2 separate regions of the Homo sapiens genome follow, and region 1 is linked to region 2. The links are contacts of gene promoters, found by promoter capture Hi-C in blood cells and fetal thymus (Javierre and others, 2016). All regions are on one chromosome and are shown on one strand. Each heading gives the region's core, a stretch centred on a gene start or on the middle of the fragment in contact. The rest is flanking DNA. Distances are from core to core; before and after follow the strand shown. Region 1 has its middle 77 kb from the start of FCRL5. Region 2 holds the start of ETV3L (ETS variant transcription factor 3 like).

The links. Contacts are between HindIII fragments. The CHiCAGO score rates a contact against its expected background, and 5 or more counts as called.
Region 1: a contact is called between a fragment that was not itself captured here and the fragment with the promoter of ETV3L in region 2, in 1 of 17 cell types (total B cells). The highest score is 5.8, in total B cells.

Annotation. Positions count from the first base shown.
Region 1 is chr1:157,473,094-157,478,355 of GRCh38, reverse strand. No RefSeq gene overlaps it. Among named protein-coding and RNA genes, the nearest start is that of FCRL5, 77 kb to the left of the region's middle. The HindIII fragment of the contact is 218 bases long and covers 1,829-2,046 here.
Region 2 is chr1:157,096,314-157,101,873 of GRCh38, reverse strand. It overlaps ETV3L (ETS variant transcription factor 3 like), which reads left to right and starts at 2,066. Exons shown (of 5, transcript NM_001004341.2): 1 at 2,066-2,408; 2 at 2,496-2,733; 3 at 2,979-3,168; 4 at 3,886-4,006. The coding sequence starts at 2,351. The HindIII fragment of the contact is 3,618 bases long and covers 1-2,135 here.

The DNA of each region.
Region 1 (5,262 bases), core at 688-3,187, 380 kb before region 2:
TGAACTTGAATACAGGTCACTTGAAATTACCCAGTCAGGAGAACCAAAAGATAAAAGAAAGAATGAAAATAGAGTGAAGAAAGCCTCCAGGAATTACAGGACAACATCTAGTGAACCAATATACTAATTATGGGTGTCCCAGATGAGTAGAGAAAGAGAAAGATGTAAAAAGACTATTTAAAGAAATAATGACAGAGATGTCTCTTTAATGTACTGTGTTTTGTCAGGAGGTAAATACATGGGTGTAGACAGCAAAAGAGAAAAATCCCTAAGGTATGCAACATTGCCATTAAATGTTATAAAATTGGCAAAAATAGAGGGAAATGATGGATAGGAGGCAGGACTAACTTGCAGCTTCCTCTCAGATGGACAGAGTCGAATGTGGAGACCTACATTGTGAACTTTTGCTCTAAGAACTACCACAGGAACATACCAGGAAAGCCAAGAGAATCCACAGACACTCTGAAGGAGGTGACAGCCAAGGAACTGTGAGTCTGCTTGCTTTCTCAGCTGGGAGGCTTATAGCCTGGGGCAAGTTCTCATCCCTGCTCACTGGTGGTGCTGTTGTGGGGGACTTGGTGGGAGTGAGGCTAGCCTTTTGGGCGGTTGTCTGCATGAGAGCTGGGTGAGACCTGTGGCTGCCAACTTTCTCCCACTTCCCTGATGGCCTGTGTGACACAGCAGAGGCAGCCATAATTACCCTGAAAACATAACTCCATTGGCCTAGGAACCACACCCCCAGCCCCTGCAGCAGCCACAGCAAGCCCCGCCCAAGGAGAGTCTGAGCTCAGACATGCCTAACCCTGCTCCCACCTGATGGTTTTTCTCTACCCGCCCTGGTTGCTGAAGACAAAGGACATAATCTCTTGGGAGCTCTAAGGTCCTTCCCACCACCTGATACTCCCTATACTACCACAGTTGATGCGCTCTTGAAAACACCACCTCCTGGCTGTAGGTCAGCCCAACACATAACCAGCACACTTAACAAAAATATAACCAAAAATCCTCCCAGAGTTCACTTCACTACCCTGCTATCTCCACCAGAGCAGGTGCTGATATCATGGAGAGACCTGAAGACAGATCACATCATGGGACTCTTTGCAGACACTCCCCAGTACCATCCAGGAGTCCAGTAGCTCCACTGGTTGGCTAGATCCAGAAGAGAAATCACAATCACTGCTGTTCAGCTCTCAGGAAGCCCCATCCCTAGAGGAAAGGGGAGAGCACCACATCAAGGGAGCACCCTGTGGGACACAAGAGTGGGAACAGTAGCCCTTGAGTTCCAGATCTTTCCTCTGACAGTCTACCCAAATGAGAGGAAACCAGAAAAACAATTCCACAATGTTCTTTAACTCCCCCAAAAGGTCACAGTAGGTCACCAGCAATGGATCCAAACCAAGACAAGATATTTGAATTGCCAGAAAAAAAATTCAGAAGGTTGACTACTAAGCCAATCAAGCAGCTTTACTCTAGGGACTGTGCTTGAGGTGTTCTGTCCAGTTTCCTTTTCTTCCAGTTTCTGAAGCCCCTTAGCTGCATTTTTTTTTTCAATTGCTTACCCATCATTCCATTTGCCCTCAGTAGTCAAGTCAACCTGTGAGGGTCTCTTAAGCATCAGCAAGCCAGCTGTGATAAGAGTTATGGTAGCCTCCACTCCTGGAACACACATGGTACCAACTGCATGCACTGGAGGAACACACTCCCCTGTCACCCCAGCCGTGAGCCTCCCAACTTCATGGGTTCAAGTCAGCCTGGCCCACCTGTGTAGTCCCCACAGTTCCTCTGAGCCATGAGGACCAGCAGCCTCTCCCAGGTCTACCCTCAAGCTTGAACCCATGAAAATTAATTGGTCTCTGAAAGCCAAGCTCTCTTCACAGTACTGCAGTTCCCCCATGCCCTATCCCCAGCTCCCACCACATGGTCACTGGTCTCCCAGCTCTTATATCACCCAGATGATAGCCATCTGACTGTTCTCTCTAATAAAGATTCATGAAGAGCTCGCCTCGTATATGCTGTTGTTTTTAGTTTAATGAGATATTGGAAGCTTTTGATAGAGCTGTTTAAGAGGATTGTAGAGGCTAAGGGAAAGTTCAAATGTTAAAAAATTTAATAAAGTACATAACCGTGAATTTTAACAGGATTAAAATTCAAAAGGTCCATAACAATAGACCATGAAAAGACTCTCCCTTTATTATTTTTTTGCTGTACCCTTTCAGAGATATTCTATCCATATGCCAACAAAATGTATACGTAATTTCCCTCCATTTTTACACAAATGTTAACATACTATAAACTCTGCCCTGCTTTTTTTGCCTTAATGATGAATCTGAGCAATTATTTTATAGTAGTACATAAAGAGCTGCCTTAATTTTTGCATGGTTGCATAGGATTCCCCTGTGTTGTTACTGATTCTCTATTGCCTCCAACTAATGAACATTTTAAGTACTTTCTGTTTTACCTTGTTATTATTTGAGTAGCAATATTGTTCTTAATTTGTGATATTTTTTCTGACTATATAGTCATTTTTGCCATGAAGAAAATTTTTATTTTTCTGTTGTCAAATCTATGAACTTTTTGTGATTTCAAGAGTTTGCTATTGCTTGTGTGTTTGATTTGTCATATGGGCTTTCTCACCCTTGGTTATTAAAAGATTTTTTTTTAGACAGGCACAGTGATGCATACCTGTAATCCCAGCACTTTGGGAGGTTGAGACAGGTGGATCACTTGAGGCCAGGGGTTCAAGACCAGCCTGGTCAACATGGAGAAATCCTGTCTCCAATAAAAATACAAAAATTAGCCATGCATGGCTGCACATGCTTGTGGTTCCAGCTACTTGAGAGGCTGAGGCGTGAGATTTGCTTGAACCCAGAAGGCAGAGGTTGCAGTGAGCCAAGATGATACCACTGCACTCTAGCCTCAGTGACAGAGCAAGACTCTGTCTCAAAAAAAAATCATTTTTTCCATTTTTTATTATTTAAAGGTTTTTTGTATGTGATATATTTTTCAGTGTGGTAAAATATGCATAAAATAAAATTTACCATTTGTAAGTGTAGAGTTCAAAACATTCACAATGTTTTGCCACCATCATCACTATCCATTTCTAGCGGGAAATTTCTAGACGCATTTAAACCTTTGGTCTTTGTGGAATTTATCTTGGTATGAAGTATGTACTATGAATCCAACTTTTTTTTCCTGATGGCCGGCCAGTTGTTTCAAAACCATTTATTGTTTTCTTTTCTGGACTTTCTATGTCTATTCATTTATTGATACCATACTGCTTTAATAACTGGAGTTTCATGATATGTTTTAATATCTGGTAGCTTGTCCCCTTGATTATGCTTATTTTTCAGAATTGTTTTGGATGTTCTTGACCCATTCTTCCATATAAAGGATCTGCTTGTCTGGATTTTTTTAAAAATCCTATTATTTTTAAATTAGAATCACATTTAATTTATAGATTAATTTCATGAGAATTGACTTCTGTATAATTTAATTTTCCTACTGGGGAATGTGCTATATGTTTTTATTTGTTCAGACATTATTTTTGTATTCTTCAGTAGCATTTTATATTTTTCATCATACATCTTTTGTACATTTCCCATTAGGTTTTAAATAAGCATTTTATTTTGCTGATGCCAAAATATCTTTCTGATTATTAGTATCATGTAATGAGTCTATTTATTTCTCCACATTAAGCTTGTATCCAACTCTCTTCCTGAGTTCTCTTATCATTTGTAATAATTTTCCTATATTTTGAGGTTTCCAGTAACAAATTAAATCATCTGTAGATAATGATAAATAAATAACTTTCAATAACTTCAGAGTATTGCTCTTGTCCCCCAGGCTGGAGTGCAATGGTGCAATCTTGGCTCACTGCAACCTCCACCTCTCAGGTTCAAGCAATTCTCCTGCCTCAGCCTCCTGAGTAGCTGGGATTACAGGTTCCTGCCACCATGCCTGCCTAATTTTTGTATTTTTAGTAGAGATGGGGTTTCACCATGTTGGCCAGGCTGGTCTCGAACTCCTGACCTCAGGTGATCCACCCGCCTCAGCCTCCCAAAGTGCTGGGATTACAGGCGTGAGCCACCACGCCCGGTCAGCTTTGAAAGTTTTATACTTCACTTCTTTCTCTGGTCTAACTATGTGAACTAATATGTCTAATGCTGTTACATTAAAATGGTGAAAGTATAATTACTTATTCTCTAAACATTGGTTAAAATTAATTTGTGAAACTGAGCCAGCTACTTTCTGAGGAATATTCTTCGACAAAATAATCTGTTTATTTTTAACAAAGTAATTTATCTGTTTATATATTTTTTCTCTTCTGGAGTCAATATTATTAAATTATATTTTTCTAGAAAATTATTTATTTTATCTAAGTTTTCAATATATTCATATAAAGTTAAGCAAAATGAACTTTTAACTTCCTGTGTATTTGTGGTTACTTTCTGCTATTTAATTTCTGCATTTGGGTATTTAATCTTTTAAGGAGGATTGTTGGAAGATTATAGACACTAGATCATGCTGATGTGCTGGTGGGAATGATTCAATGTTTTGTTTCTAACAAAACACTTCTGAGAAAGAGACAGTTTTTTCCCACCAAAGCAATGTTCGGTCTTTGAACAGGAAAAAATAATTAAAAGAAGGCAAATGATTAGGGTTCAGGAAAATATAGGAATGAGGGAATTTCCAGAGACCAAAAACAGTATCAGGGAGCTTCAGGAGCTTTGCACAGAAGTGAAATTAGGATCTGTGTTTTCTGTATGGTCTGGAATACTTGAGAGCTGCCTGACTCTTCTCTCTCTCTCTCTCTCTCTCTCTCTTTCTCTTTCTCTCTCTTTCTGTCTTTCTCTTTCTCTCTCTCTATGTGTGTGTGTGTGTATGTCTTCTTATCTGTTCCTCTCCCTCTCTCCCTCTTTTGCTCCCTCCCTTTTAGATGTAAATAAATTTATTAAGCTATTTCTCATGGGCTACGGAAAGGATTGTTTACTGTGAACAGGGAGATGGAGTTCCAATTTACAACAAAATTGAGAAAAATCGTAAGAGGGAACTTGGTGCCACAATCTCTGTAGAGTCCAGAGTCCTTGGTTTCCAATTCTCTTCTAACTATACTTCTGGAACCCATAACACGTATAGGAAAAGGAACAAGTCCAGTAATTACGGAAAGGCAGTTAAGAGCAGGTGGATACAGATGACTTTTATTCTGTCTCAAGTACATAATACATCCTGTGCCCCACCTTGAGGACACAAGCATATGTGTAT
Region 2 (5,560 bases), core at 817-3,316:
ATTAGCCAGTCGTGGTGATGGGTGCCTGTAGTCCTAGCTACTTGGGAGGCTGAGGTGGGAGAATTGCCTGTACCTGGAGGTTGCAGTGAGCTGAGATCATGCCACTGCACTGCAGCCTGGGTGACAGAGTGAGACTCTGTCTCAAAAAATAAATAAATAAATAAATAAATAATAGAAGTACAGAGTCTTAGGTCCCCCAAATCCCACTGAATCAGAATCCGTATTTTAAAGAGACCTTCAGATCATTCCTATTCGCATTAGAGTCTGAAAATCACCAACATAGATTTTTTTTTTTTTTAAGTCTTAAGGCAACTCAGTATATGAGAAAGTGCTATGGATTAGGAGTCAGGGGGCAGGGCAGCTAACTCACCACCTGTCTTTGGTCAAGTCATTTTCCCTGTCTGAGCCTCCTCTGGAAAGTGAGGAAGCAACTCCAGACAAATCCTCACATGCCCTCCAGACAAATCCTCACACGCCCTCCAGACCTCACAGCCTAATAAGTTCTCACTGAGACTACTGCACACTAACTCCACCAGAGATGGAGAGCCAGGCCCGGGTCACGTAACCCTGTTCACAGGCAGTCCTAAGCGCCCAGGAACCTCCCAATGCCCTGGCCCACCAGGAGCAGTTCCCATGTGCTGCATCCCCAAGGCAGCCTCTCCCAGTCCCTTTGCATATTGTTTCATCTTCCATTAGTTATAGTGGAAACCAGCCTTTTGCACCATCCAGAAGGCTTTCTGTTCCATCCAGAAGGCTTTAGAGCTTAGATATTTTGTTCTCTTTTCCTATATCAGGCAAGTCTATCTCACTAGGGCTCATTCCATAAACTCCCCACCCTTCTCAGCGGAGAACCACAAGATTCCCGGTTCCTGTCCATGGTTCACCAATTCAACAAATATCTATAAAGCACCTTTGAGTACGATGTCCTGTGCTACGATGGGATCTGGGGAGCCAGCAGAGGAGAACAAGACAGCTAGGGTTGCTGATCTCGGAGCTGACACTCTGAGCGGGATACAGATGTTCAACAAAGAAGACACTATCTATAAGTCCATTACCATTCATTCATTCGATCAGCAATCATTTATTGAACACCTATTTTGCGCCAGGCCCTTGGGACTGGCAAAAAAAAGCCCATAAAAATTCCTGCTCGTCTGGGCACGGTGGCTCACACCTGTAATCCTAGCACTTTGGGAGGCGGAGGCAGGCGGATCACCTGAGGTCAGGAGTTTGAGACCAACCTAGCCAACAGGGCGAAACCCTGTCTCTACTAAAAATACAAAAATACGCTGGGCATGGTGGTGGGCACATGTAATCCCATCTACTCAGGAGGCTGAGGCAGAAGAATCGCTTGAACCTGGGAGGCAGAGGTTGCAGTGGGCCGAGATCTCACCACTATACTCCAGCCTGGGTGACAGAGCGAGACTCCATCTCAAAAAAACAAACAAACAAACAAAAAAACCAAATTCCTGCTCTTCTCAAATGTCAAATTGTTTGAAATACAGTAAAGGCGGCCAGGTGCAGTGGCTCACACTTGTAATCCCAGCACTTTGGGAGGCCGAGGTGGGCGGATCACGAGGTCAGGAGTTCGAGACCAGCCTGGCCAACATGGTGAAACCCCATCTCTACTAAAAATAAAAAATAAAAAAAATTAGCTGGGCGTGATGGCATGCACCTGTAATCCCAGCTACTCGGGAGGCTGAGGCAGGAGAATTGCTTGAATCTAGGAGGCGGAGGTTGCAGTGAGCCGAGATCACCCCATTGCACTCCAGCCTGGGCGACAGGGTGAGACTCTGTCTCAAAAAAAATAAAAAAAGAAAGAAAGAAAGAAAAAAAAGAAATACTGTAAAGGCACAGGTATGTGTATATGCCACCTCCTTCCCACTCAAGATTTAGAATGAGCCCATGATTAATTACATTTCCTTTTGTCTTCTCTTGGGAAAAACTCCAATCCTGTTAAGCCCTAAGAAGAGATCTCATTCTCTGTCTAAATCCCCCAGCAGGGGCAGGATATAGGACCCTTTGCACTTCTCTCCATCTATATAAGTAGCTCAGCCGGAAGCCCTGAGTCCGAGTCAGCCCTGGGCAGCGGGGAGGTCCCCAGAGGGGGCTGGGCCCTGTCTGGGTATGGGGAAGCTTGCTGCCTCTGGTTCCCTTTTCTCCCCTTCACTGGCAACCTCTTGTCCCTTCCCTTTTCTCTCTTTCTTTCCTGACCCTCTCCCTTCCTTCCTTCTTTCCCTCCATTTTTCCTTCCTCTTTCACTGTCCTCCCCTCTGCCTCCTTCCTTCCCTTCCTCTTAAGTGGTGACCATTTCCCCAAGGCCCAGACACAGCCCATCTCGCCGGAGTGGACCATGCACTGCAGCTGCTTGGCTGAGGGCATCCCAGCCAACCCCGGCAACTGGATCTCAGGTGAGCCTCTTGGCCGGGCCTACCCCCTGCTCCAACGGTGGCCTAGGGCAGGGCCTCCAGAGCCCTCACTCTCCCCTCTCCACCCAGGGTTGGCCTTCCCTGATTGGGCCTACAAAGCCGAGTCGTCCCCAGGCTCCCGGCAGATCCAGCTGTGGCACTTCATCCTGGAGCTGCTGCAGAAGGAAGAGTTCCGCCATGTCATCGCCTGGCAGCAGGGAGAGTACGGGGAATTTGTCATCAAGGATCCAGATGAGGTGGCCCGCCTCTGGGGCCGCAGGAAATGCAAACCACAGATGAATTATGACAAGCTGAGCCGGGCCCTCAGGTGAGAGGAGGCGGCTGACATGGCCAAAGAGGGGGGATTTCAAGGAAAAGGGCCGTGGTTTCTGGTACCCCTGCTGACTCCCACCCCTCCAAGGCTTGGGAAGTGTCCTGGCCTGTGGTGAGCAGCCTAGTGGTTCTCGGGGAACAGCTTAGGGTCAGCCCGGCTAGGGAGGAGAATGTGACTGGGTCCCTGACTCTATTCTCTGACTGCTGGGCCAACTCTATTCTCAACTTCGAATTCTCCAGATATTACTACAATAAGAGGATCCTGCATAAGACCAAAGGCAAAAGGTTCACATACAAGTTCAACTTCAGCAAGCTCATCGTAGTCAACTATCCTTTGTGGGAAGTGCGGGCGCCGCCATCCCCCCACTTGCTGCTGGGGGCCCCTGCCCTGTGTCGGCCAGCGCTGGTGCCCGTGGGTGTGCAGAGTGAGGTAAGAGCGGAGGTGGCCCCTGTCTCAGGGCTCCACCAGGTCCTACCCCTCTGCCCAGGAGGCTCCCCACCCTCCTCTTTGCCTCTGGGGCCCATCAGCCTCCAGTTTTCTTCTCCTCCTGCATCCTAGACCCTGAGTGCCCCAGAGGCAGGGGTATTAACAATCCAGGTGGTACAGGACCCACCTGTGAGAAAGGGTGGCTCCTTCTGTCCTAGTCGCCACTCCTTTAGGGGTGGATCAGAGGGAAGGGCCCAGGGCATCTGAGACTGTAGGCAGCCGTGGCAGTGGGCTTTTAACAATGGGTATGAGAGGCCAGGCGTGGTGGCTCACACCTGTAATCCCAGCACTTTGGGAGGACGAGGTGGACGGATCATTTGAGGTCAGGAGTTCGAGACCAGCCTGGACAACGTGGCAAAACCCCATCTCCAATAAAAATATAAAAGTAGCTGGGCATGGTGGCACATGTCTGTAATCCCAGCTACTAGGGAGGCTGAGGCAGGAGAATCGCTTGAACCCAGGAGGCAGAGGTTGCAGTGAGCCAGGATGGCGCCACTGCACTCCAGCCTGGGTGACAGAGCAAGACTCCAACTCAAAAAAAAAAAAATCGGTATGAGAGTATTTCATTGTTTTAGCAACTGGCTAACAGTACCAGATTGTACTGGAGGATACATGCCAAGGAGAGCCCATCACACCTCGCACCTACTTCTCACCCCTCAGCTCCTGCACAGCATGCTATTTGCCCATCAGGCCATGGTGGAGCAGCTGACAGGACAGCAGACCCCCCGAGGGCCACCAGAGACCTCTGGGGATAAGAAGGGGAGCAGCAGCAGCGTCTACCGTGAGTGCTCAAGGCTGGGAGGGCCCAGGGGGATCTTAGCCAGAGGAGGGAGGGCCCTCCTGGCTGAGTACATGGCTGAGGGGGCATGAGACAAGGGATACTATGTAACTCATTCATTCATTCGACCAACATTTATTGAACACCAGCTATTTACTAAGTGCGGGGGTTCAGAGATGAAAGGCTCAAGAGGCTCAGAACCTAGTGGGGAGCAGAGATGGGATTACTGCCAGCGACTGCTGCTGGCATTCAGGTAAGCACTAGGTGCTGTGCATTCAGGCCCAGAGAAGGAACTGGGGCTTCCCAGAGGACACAACACTGGGGCAGGTGAAGGAGGTGGGAAAAGATGCCTAAGCAGAGGGAATAGCATTTATTTATTCTTTTTTTTTTTTTTTTTTTTGAGACGGAGTCTCAGTGTTGCCCAGGCTGGAACACAGTGGCAGGATCTCAGCTCACTGCAGCCTCTGCCTCCCAGGTTCAAGTGATTCTCATGCCTCAGCCTCCTGAGTAGCTGGGACTACAGACATGCACCACCACGCCCAGCTAATTTTTGTATTTTTAGTAAAGACGGGGTTTCACCATGTTGGCCAGGCTGGTCTCAAACTCCTGACCTCAGGTGATCCACCCGCCTCAGCCTCCCAAACTGCTGGGATTACAGGTGTGAGACACCACACCCAGTCAGAAATAGCATTTATAAAGCAAAAAGCTGTGAACAAGTGTAGCAAATCTGGAGAACAGCTGGTAGTTTGCTGTTGGAGAGCAAGTCTTGCGATGCGGTGGGAACAAGCAGGACGGATGAGAGACAGGGCTGGCAAGGCAAACAGGTGTCAGGCCACAGAGGCCGCACAAGCCATGCTAAGGGAGCAGGACTTTCTCCTGTGGGCAGGAGGGACTGGGAGGGAGATCCATGGTCAGACTTTCATTTTATTTTACTTTCTTTTATTATTTTTTGAGATGGCGTTTTGCTCTTGCTGCCCAGGCTGGAGTGCAATGGCACAATCTCGGCTCACTGCAACCTCCGTCTCCTGGGTTCAAGCGATTCTCATGCCTCAGCCTCCCAAGTAACTGGGATTACAGGCATGCGCCACCACCTTGGCTAATTTTGTATTTTTAGTAGAGACCAGGTTTCTCCATGTTGGTCAGGCTGGTCTTGAACTCCTGACCTCAGGTGATCCGCCTGCCTCGGCCTTCCAAAGTGCTGGGATTACAGGCGTGAGCCACCGCGCCCTGCCAGACTTTCATTTTATAAAGATGACTGTGTGTGTGTAGAGTTTGGGTTGGAGGAAGCATAAGACTGGAGTTGGGAGGCTTTTGAAGATAATCTAGGCAGGAGATGATGGGGCGGTAACCAAGACAACGGCCATGGGATGAAGAAGGAGGCTCAGCTGGAGAGAGATTGGGAAGATAGGGTTCATTCACTCATTCACTCACTCATTCATTTCTTCTTTCAACAGATGCTTAATGACCTCCTGTTTAATTTGCCAGGCACTGTCCTAGGGGCTAGGAAGCCAATGTGAGCAACACTGCCTTTATGGGACTTATAGGCAAGGGGGGTGC